Regions from separate parts of the Homo sapiens genome. Here region 1 is linked to region 2. Evidence: promoter capture Hi-C in human tissues and cell types (Jung and others, 2019). All regions are on one chromosome and are shown on one strand. The core of a region is centred on a gene start or on the middle of the fragment in contact, and the rest is flanking DNA. Distances in the headings are between cores, read along the strand shown.

Region 1 (5,215 bases), core at 748-3,247, 94 kb after region 2:
TCAGGAAAGCTGTAGCTTTCTCAGAAGCTTGACTCAGCGACTTCTGTTTGTATCAGTAAGTCACAACTGGGTCATCTGGCCACGCCTGTCTGCAAAATGGACTTGTCAGCACCTGCCTTTTTTGTCTCTGAGGTTGAGGCAGGCTGTGGAGGAGGAGGCTGGGGATGCTCAGGAGACTACTGACGGACAGTGTCTGTTAGAGGCACTCTTGCCAGAAGAGAGGCTTTGATTGGTCAGTTGCCCTCTGGTGTCAGGTGCCCCACTGGCTCTCCTTATAGGCCACTGCCCATCTGTGGGGCTGGATATTAATCTATTGTCCCATCAACTGTGGGGTGGGAGGGGCGGGGACAAGTAGCACCAAGTGTGGTCATCTTGGTGTAAGACACTGCATGTCCCATGCCTTAGACATCATTTTGACAGGTTTCCACAGTGACTAAGAGGAGGAGGAAGGGACATCACAGGAGTCACAGGGATGAGAAAAGGGTTTTTTGTGTTTTGTTTTTAAGAAACAACACAGGCCAGGCACAGTGGCTCACACCTGTAATCCCAGCACTTTGGGAAGCCGAGGTAGGCAGATCACCTGAGGTCAGGAGTTTGAGGCCAGCCTGACCGACATGGAGAAATCCCGTCTCTACTAAAAATACAAAATTAGCCAGGCATGGTGGCGCATGCCTGTAATCCCAGCTACTCGGGAGGCTGAGGCAGGAGAATTGCTTAAACCTGGGAGGCGGAGGTTGCGGTGAGCCAAGATGGCACCATTGCACTCCAGCCTGGGCCACAAGAGCGAAACTCTGTCTCAGAAAAAAAAAAGGAATTAAAAAAAAAAAAAAACACAGATCATAAAGAAGAAGGTTAAGAAATGTTAACTGCAAAGGTTCTGTTCATTGGAAGATCCCATTACAAGAGTGAAAAAAGTTAACTGGGAGAAGGTATTTGCAAAACATTCACTGACAGAGGATTAGTATCTATAGTATATAGTTGAGCCTTTACCAACATGGGTTTGAACCATGGAGGTCCATACAGTTTTCTCAGAGCCCACAGCGGGACTTGAGCGAGCAGGGATTTTGGTGTCACAGGGATCCTGGAACCAATCCCCTGAGTATACCAAGGGATGACTGTATGTATCAATTCCAAAATGTCATACCACTGAGTGGCCGTTCACAGAGGGGACAAGCTAAATAAGCCAGTAAACATGAAATTATGCCAAACTTCAGAGAAATGCAGTTTAAAACACCACAAGAGGTCTCACACTTCTCAGACTGACAGAAGGACCTAGAGCAGTAAGAGTGAGAGTGCTGCGGGGTGGGGTGCATGTTGGTTCATCCTTTTCAATAAGGCACTTAGAAAAATCTAGCAATGATGAAATACTCAAACTATGACCCTGTGTATCCCCTGTGAGGTATTGGCCCCCGAGAGCTCTTGCACTTGGATTTCGGAGACAGTATAAGAATAGTTTTTATAGCATGGTCGATAATAACCAAAACATTGGAAAGATCCTCAGTATCAACACCAGAAAAGATAAGACAGAGCATTATGGTCATACAGTGAGGTGAACACTACAGAGACCTGCCTGGAACAAAGTAGATGAGTCTCTCAAACAGTGTTGAGAATATATAAAGTGTAATACCACTTATGTAAGCTTAAAAACATGCAAAACAACAATACTTTTTTTTTTTAGGGGTACATAGATGTGTAGTAAAAAAGCTTAAAAACATGCAAAACAGCAATACTTTTTTTTTTTTTTTTTTAGGGATACATATATGTGTAGTAAAAAAGAAAATGCATGGAAATGCCAAATTCTTGTCAGAATAGTGGTTACCTGAGAGGAAAATGTGATTCTTTGAATCAGCTGTTAGCTCTCAGGAGAATGAGTGGTGGGGAGAGATGCAGTGGGGTGTATGCATGGGGTCTTAGCTGGATTTGCAATAGTTTATTTCTTGGGGGCGGAGGTGGTCATAGATATTGGTCATATTATTCTTTGTATGTTTGCGTGTCTGAAATAAATACATTGAATAAATGATCCCAAGAGAGGACAGAGGACAGAAGAGGAAAAGAATCTCTTTTTTTTTGGAGACAGACAGGAGTGCAATGGCGCAATCACAGCTCACTCTAGCCTCGACCTACTGGGCTTGAGTGATCCTCTCACCTCAGCCACCTGAGTAGCTGTAGCTGGGACTGCAGGCACGCACAACCACGCCTGGCTAATTTTTGTAGAGACGAGTTTCACCATGTTGCTTAGGCTGGTCTCAACTCCTGGGCTTAAGAGATCCGCCCCCTTCAGCCTCCCAAAGTGTTGGGATTATAGGTGTGAGCCACTTGTACCTGGCCAGAAAAGAATCTTGAAGGTTCTTTTCTAACCTGTAATCAAAGGTTAGAAAACAGGTCTTGGCCGGGTGTGGTGGCTCACACCTGTAATCCCAGCACTTTGGGAGGCCGAGCCTGGCAGATCATGAGGTCAAGATTGAGACCATCCTGGGCAACATGGTGAAACCCCATCTCTACTAAAAATACAAAAATTAGCTGGGCATGGTGGCGGGCGCCTGTAGTCCCAGCTACTCAGGAGGCTGAGGCAGGAAAATCACTTGAACCCGGGAGGCAGAAGTTGCAGTGAGCCGAGATCGCACCACTGCACTCCAGCCTGGTGATAGAGTGAGATTCTGTCTCAAAACACACACACACACACACACACACACACACACAATAGAAAACAGGTCTGCCTATCTTCATTGTGTCTGTGCTAGACCAGGCACAGAACCTGCAAAGCTTCCAAATTGTTGGCTTTCTAACTGATAATTGACATCTGAGTAGCATGCTCTGCACTGGAGAACTCTTTAATCATTCTCTGTCCCTCTGCCACCTCTCACTTATTCCACGTGCCCAGAGGAATGTTTGAATTAGAATGATTTGTCTTTCTGAAATTTTGCCGCAAACCCTACTGAGTTGAATTGGGTTATGAAAAGATAACATATTATGAGTAAGATATTATGAAAACTCTGCCTATTGAGTAAAGGTGATCTCCATGCTCTTTCCTCCTGTATCCTCTGATTCCCACTTCATCTGTGACTTTTTTTTTTTTTTTTTTTTTTTGAGACAGGGTCTCACTCTGTTGCCTGGGCTGCAGTGCAGTGGTGCGATCTCAGCTCACTGCAACCTCTGCCTCCCAGGTTCAAGCGATTCTCCTGCCTCAGCCTCCCAAGTAGCTGGGATTACAGGCACGTGCCACCACGCCTGGCTAATTTTTGTATTTTTATTAGTGATGGGGTTTCACCATGTTGGTCAGGCTGGTCTCAAACTCCTGACCTCATGATCTGCCTGCCTCGGCCTCCCAAAGTGCTGGAATTACAGGTGTGAGCCACCATGCCCAGCCCATCTGTGACTCTTGACTGACCTATTCCTTAATGCACTTCTTGTTTGTGGTGATGTTTGTGTGATAGTTTACCATTCCTAGAGGGCAGGGTCCTGGGGGGTTTGTTCTGGTAGCCCTCAGGTTGCAGGGATCACACTTTGAAGCTCAGGCCACAGACTGACAGCGTACTACTGAACTGAATCCTTAGCTTGCTCACTCAAGTCCTGCACGCAGAGCCTGGCCTCTGTGGCGTCTGGCCCCACAGCCCTCTCCCTAGTCTCTGGTAACCCCAGCCAGGAACCTTGACTCTCTAGTGGTTGCCAAAGGACCAAGCAAAGGGGAGGATTGAGTCAGAGGGAACATATTGGTTATATAATTGCTGTTTGGAAGTATACTGACAGGTTGGAATTTTTGGAATGAGTTTTACACAGTTTAGTGTGGTTCAGTATTTTTCCAGAAGCATAGGTAGCCTGGGCCAAGTGGGAGGTTTCCCCTAGTCTGTTAGGATTCACCCCCATCCCTCTTTGCATGAGAACAGTGTTTTCTTCCGGAAAAGAAACGGGGGCTGTGACAGGCTCCCTGTGGTGAAGCCGACTAAAAGGTAAAGCAAAGGATTTTTGCCATGGAAACACCTTAGCCATGCCCAGGGGCCTTGGGGGTGGACTTGGTGCTACTTTTATAGCAGGCAGTAGAGGAAGTGAGCTGCCAGCACTGGGCTGCAGGGCAAGCAGAGTACCAATCCAGTGTTTACTTTGTTCTAGGCTGTTTTGTCGTGACCGTTCAACTTGGAGAAACCAATGTAGTTCAGTAAGGCATATGATTGACTACATAATTGATTAGTATTGGTTAGGAAAGTTGCCTCCTGTTTTGACATGTTTTCCTGTGAGAAAACCATGTTTAACTTACATCTTTTTTTTTTTTTTTTTTTTTTTTTGAGACAGTCTTGCTCTGTCGCCCAGGCTGGAGTGCAATGGCATGATCTCGGCTCACTGCAACCTCCACCTACTGGGTTCAAGCAATTCTCCTGCCTCAGCCTCCCAAGTAGCTGGGACTACAGGTGTGTGCCACCATGCCTGGCTAATTTTTTTTTTGTATTTTTAGTAGAGATGGGGGTTTCACTATGTTGGCCAGGCTGGTCTCGAACTCATGACCTCGTGATCCACCTGCCTTGGCCTTCCAACGTGCTGGGATTATAGGCATGAGCCACCGCGCCTGGTCTAACTTACATCCTTTTGCTCTTAGAGCAAAACCTGCCTGAGCTTAGGGTATCCAGCCCAGCACCCTGCTCTTGTGGGCATAATATAAATAACATTTGGTGGTGATGCTGCTAGCAAATAATTCCCAATCCCATGTTTCTTCATTTTCCCTTTATTCATTTATTTAGAGTCAAGGTTTTGCCTCTTGCCTAGACTGGAGTATACTGACATGATCATAGCTCACCGTAAACTCAAACTCCTGGGCTCAAAGCAGTCCTCCTGCCTCAGCCTCCTAAGGAGCTGGGACTACAGGCATGTGCTACCACATCTGGCTGAATTTTAAAATTTTTTTGTGAGCCAGGTGCAGTGGTTCACGCCTATAATCCCAGCACTTGGGAAGCCAAGGAGGGAGGATTGCTTGACGCCAGGAGTTTGAGACCAGCCTGGGCAACGTAGCAAGACCCCATCTCTAAAAAAAAAAAATTTATGGAGTCAGGGTCTCGCTCTGTGGCCCAGCTCAAACTCCTGGCCTCCAGCAGTCCTCCTGCCTCAGCTTCCCAAAGTGCTGAGATTTTAGATGTGAGCCACCACACCTGGCCCTGTTTTCTCTTAATGATGTACTGCCTCACCTCTCAGTGGACTCTGCCGACCGTAATGTCCCTTTCTGCCACAT
Region 2 (4,985 bases), core at 1,087-3,586:
TGACAGCAGAGGCCAGAAGCTGGGGAACAGGTAGAGGCTATCCTAGGAGTCCTTGTGTGGAAGAATGAAAGAAACCTGAACCAGGATTGTGCTGAAAAGAGAAGGGGGTAGGGGTAAGGGTTAGATTTCAAGGACAATTGAACCTTCGGGGTGGCAAAACTGGTGCTGATTAGCTCTGGAGGCTGAGAGAGAAGGAAGAGTTCATGATAACCCCCACCTGCCTCACCCTGGATCCATTCCCTCTTTTGTGTTAATCAGACACTTACTGAGCACTTACTGTGTGCCAGGCATTCTTCTGAGTGCTTTACACATATTCACTCACTTAACCCTACAACCACTGTAGCTACAAGGGAATTATCCCACTGTTATCATCCCCATTTTACAGATGAGGAGACTGAGGCACAGAGAGTTTAATTTGGCCAAGGTCACAAAGCTAATAAGTAACAAAGCTAAGATTTGAACCCAGGCCATTTGGCTGCAGAGTCCCTGCCCTCACCACTGCTGAGGTTGAACCTGAGTCTTGTCCTGAATGTTTCCTGGCATCCCAGCCCCAGCCTCATCTCCTCCTCCTCATGTCACTCCCCATTAGGCAGCAGCATATCCCCTCAGTATCCCAACTGCCTCCCAGAATGTTGCCCCACTCCAAGGCGCACCTCTGTCTGAGAAGCAGCTCCCAGCCTGTGTGGCCCCCAGTCTCAGCCAGCAAGACTGTAGGGCATCAGGGATCTACAGGTGGGGAAACTGAAGTCCAACAATGAGTCACAGGCCTCAATCAGGGAGCTGTTGGCAGAGCTGCATCTGTGACGCCTGGTTTGTTGTCCACCTTTCCTCGATGTGCAGGCTGGCACAGCTGTGAACGGCAGTGCTGGGTGTGTGCAGAGCTCTTCCTAGATCTTTCTTACGTGTCATCCTGTCTGACGCCCAGGGCAGGGATCGCCAGCCCCATGTTTCCATCTGGAAACAGAGGCCTTTGAAGGGAAAGGGGTCCACCCAGAGTTACTTCAGCCAGATCACATTAGGCTGAGGTTAGAACTTAGGTTTGGGGCCCCAGGCTCACTGTTATGTTCCCCAAGGTGCATCTGTTCTCTCAGGCACCAGCTCCAGGGGTCCCTGAACACTGCCCAGCAACCTCCCCAGTCACCTGAGGGTGGCTGGAGGGGACAAGCTAGTTCAGCCCTCAGGGAGGGCAGGAAGTGGGTGAATTTCTCACTTTATCTCCTTTAATTCTGCATATAGACAGCCCGCCTCTCACCCTACCATAAATAGCTCTTCCTGACAGAAGTAACCAACCCTAAATCTGGCTTCTGTCTCCTGTGTGCATGTACATGTAATGTTTACTACATCTGCGTGTTTCACCAGGACATAAATAGTATTTTTACATGTTTTCAGACTTCATGTAAAGAGATCCTACTGTGTATTTTTTAGAGATTTTATTTCCTCCCCCATTCAGTATGATATCTGTGAGATTCAATCCACACTGGTATATACGTAGCTCTAATTCTGACCGCCTTTTACAGATGAGACACGGGATCGGCAAGGTTACAGGACTTGCCTCGAATCATAGGTCTTGTAGGTGACCGAGACAGAATTTGGACTGTGTGATCCAGAGCCCTCTCTGCTTCTGGATCCTGCTGTCACCCACCTCCTTAGCACCTGCCTCCTACTCCACGTGCCCACGCCCATCCTGCTGCCCTGCTTCCTCTTGTCCTCTCCTTGGCAGGCATGTGAAAGACCGTTTTCACAAAGGTGTTAAGAACTTCCCGGGTTCCCCCACTGAGGGCACATGCATTTGAGGAAGTGCTGGGGAAAGCTCATTGGAGTGGGAAGCCAGGGCTTTGGGTCTGGCTCTACCAGCTGTGTGACCCCAACAAATCCCTCTGAGCCTCACTTTCCTTATCTGTATTATGAGGCTGCTTATAGGGGCCTGTGAATTTTATTAGGCGGGTGCAAAAGTAATTGTGGTTTTTGCCATTTAAAGTAATGTAATACCATGTCAGGGACTCGGGGACTCTGTCACTGACCAGAAAAAGGAGAGGAATTCTGAAATAGCTTCAGCATGAGGAGCAGGGTAAGAGAGCCTGGTGACAGACCCTGGCCAGCACCCCTTCCATCCCAGCCAGCAAGGGCCGTGGCCACACTTACCATGTGCAGCATGTCTGAGGCCGTCGGGGATACCTGGGCCCGGTAGAGGTTGTGCAGCTCCACCATCAAACGTTTCTCCTCATCTGTGAGGGCTCCAACGGGGCCTGTGGTGGCCACCAGCAGTAGCAGTAGCGGCAGCAGAAGCATCAGGAAACTGCAGGAGCCGTGCATGGTGGCCAGCCGTCTCTCCTTCTCCCGTCCAGGGGTCTGGCAGCTGGATTTAAAGTCCTTCCCACACAAGCACCACCCTGGCTGGGGTGGGGCAGTGGGGGCCGTGTTTGAGGCCCAGCCCGACTCACACAATGTCTCAGGGAGGGCTGGGCGCTTTGGGTCCCGACCAGCATCAAGTGCACTCCCCTTGGAGTCCTTGGCAAAAACCTCCTTTCTCTTGGTAACGGGGGCTCAGGCCAAAAGCTGTGTGAGTTCCTAAGTTGTGGACAGATCCTTCAGGGGCAAAATCACAGTAACCTCTGCAGAGCTGTGACTGGTTGCACCCAGGTCACACCCACTGTGTGTTGAAGATAGATAAGAGAAAGGAAACCACAGACCCTACCCACAGAGGAGTGGGCAAGATGAGGAAGCTATAGGCTTTTGAAAGGACAGAGGAAGACCAGATGTATTTGATAAAAGGCTGAGCCAACCTAAATCAGAATCCTGGTTCTGCCCCTTGCTATCTGTGTTTTGGCAGCTTTCTCAAGTGAATCAGTGACAATAATAGTACCTATCTCACAGGACTAGAGGGAAGATTCAATGACATATAATGTATGTAAAGCACCTAGTATGGTGTCTGGCACATAGTAGGCCCTCAGTAACAGTAGACAACCCACTCATGTGGCCTGGGCCTTAGCAGGCTACCAGCCCCCTGTGGAGGCAACATTCTTGCCTGCGGGGGGAGAGGCCAAGGTCTTCCCCACTCTAGCTGTATTCAGGAATAAGGCCTTTCACTATGGCAAAATTTTGGCTTCCAGGTATCCTCTCTGAATGCATGTGCTTGACATGCTCATTTGGAAGTGGGATGCTGGGACCCCTGTGCTCTAACTATGTAGAAATATAATGTGTCTGTTTCTTAAATCAAGAGAGAGCAGAAAAGCAGAAGGTTGAATGAGCTGATGCACCAGGAGCTCTGAGGGGAAGGTATTGGAAGGGAAATAGCCTTAGCAGTCAGGTGCTGGCATTATAATGACCTTGACCTTGCAGGGGCCATGACCGGTTCATGAAGCAGGAAGCTGGAACCAGTACTCTTGAGGACAGCTGGGATCCTTGAAGCCTGCTTCTTCAATGAATAGGGACCTAGAAAAAGTCTACCCACAGGCTTTGGAAGATGACAAGAAAACCTGTCCCTGCCTGAGTCTCCAAGTAAAAATAAAAACAAAACCAAGATGGATTACACACACATACACACACACACACACTTATTAGAATTAATAAAGTCAGCAAAGTTGCAGGATACAAAATTAACACATAGAAATTAGTTGTTTCTATACACTAATAATGAAAAATCCAAAAAGGAAATTAAGAAAACAATTTCATTTATAAAAGCAATGAAAAAGAATAAAAAGAATAAAATTCTTACCAATAAACTTTTTTTTTTTTTTTGAGATGGAGTCTCGCTCTGTCACCCAGGCTGGAGTGCAGTGGCATGATCTTGGCTCACTGCAACCTCTGCCTCCTGGGTTCAAGTGATTCTCCTGCCTCAGCCTCCCAAGTAGCTGGGACTACTTGCCCACCATGCTGCCCACCATAGCTGCTACCATGCCCGGCAAATTTTTGTATTTTTAGTAGAGATGGGGTTTCACCATGTTGGCCAAATGGTCTTGATCTCTTGACCTCGTGATCCGCCCGCCTCGGTCTCCCAAAGTGCTGGGATTACAGGTGTGAGCCACTGCGCCTGGCCCTTAGCAATAAACTTAACCAAGGAAGCAAAAGACTTGTACGCTGAAAATCACAAGTGTTGACAAACAAAGTGAAAGAAGACACAAATAAATGGAAAGTCATCCTATATTCATGGATTAGAAGACTTGATATTGCTAAGGTGTCAATGTTGCCTGAAGCAATCTACAGATTCAATGCAATCCCTATTGAAATGCAAATCATAATATTTTTATAGAAACAGAAAAATCCATCCTAAAATTTATATGGAATCTCAAAGGACCCCAAATAGTCAAAACAATCTTGAAAAAGAACAAAATTGGAAGTCTTACAGTTTCTGATTTTAATATGTAACCACAAATCTACAATAATTAAAATAGTGTGGTATTAGTATAAAGACAGACATTTAGACTAATGGAATAGAATAGCCCAGAAATAAACTCTTACACATATGGTCAAATGATTTTAGACAAGGGTACCAAGACCGTTCAACGAGGGAAAGGCAAGTCTTTTAAAGAAGACTTAGAAAACTGGAATGTCCACATGCGAAATAATGAAGTTGAATCTTTACCGTAAGTATATTAAAAAATTAACTCCAAAATGGATTAAATACCTAAACATAAAAGCTAAAACTACAAAACTCTTAGAAGAAAATATAAGGGGGACTTCTTGGCATTGGATGTGGCAAGGATTTCTTGGATATGACACCAAAAGCATAGGCAACAAAACAAAAATAAATTGGACTTCATTAAAATTAAGAACTTTCGGGGGCAGAGTGTAGTGGCTCATGCCTGTAATCCCAGCACTTTGAGAGGCCAAGGTGGGTGGATCACTTGAGGTCAAGAGTTCGAGACCAGCCTGGCCAACATGGTGAAACCCCGTCTCTACTAAAAATACAAAAATTAGCTGGGTGTGGTGGCAGGCGCCTGTAGTCCCAGCTACTCAGGAGGCTGAGGCAGGAGAATTGCTTGAAC

The links. The method cuts DNA at HindIII sites, captures the fragments that hold promoters and counts their contacts. A contact is called where the count stands out against the background at its distance.
Region 1: a contact is called between a fragment that was not itself captured here and the fragment with the promoter of PI16 in region 2, in 8 of the 25 tissues and cell types used here (IMR-90 fibroblasts, aorta, dorsolateral prefrontal cortex and 5 more).

Annotation. Positions count from the first base shown.
Region 1 is chr6:36,857,297-36,862,511 of GRCh38, reverse strand. The region is part of intron 2 of PPIL1 (peptidylprolyl isomerase like 1); the gene reads left to right. Among named protein-coding and RNA genes, the nearest start is that of PPIL1, 15 kb to the left of the region's middle. RefSeq lists an enhancer at 2,182-2,683. The HindIII fragment of the contact is 5,580 bases long and covers 1-4,787 here.
Region 2 is chr6:36,952,089-36,957,073 of GRCh38, reverse strand. It overlaps PI16 (peptidase inhibitor 16), which reads right to left and starts at 2,336. Exons shown (of 7, transcript NM_153370.3): 1 at 2,143-2,336. The coding sequence starts at 2,313. The HindIII fragment of the contact is 39,732 bases long and covers 1-4,985 here.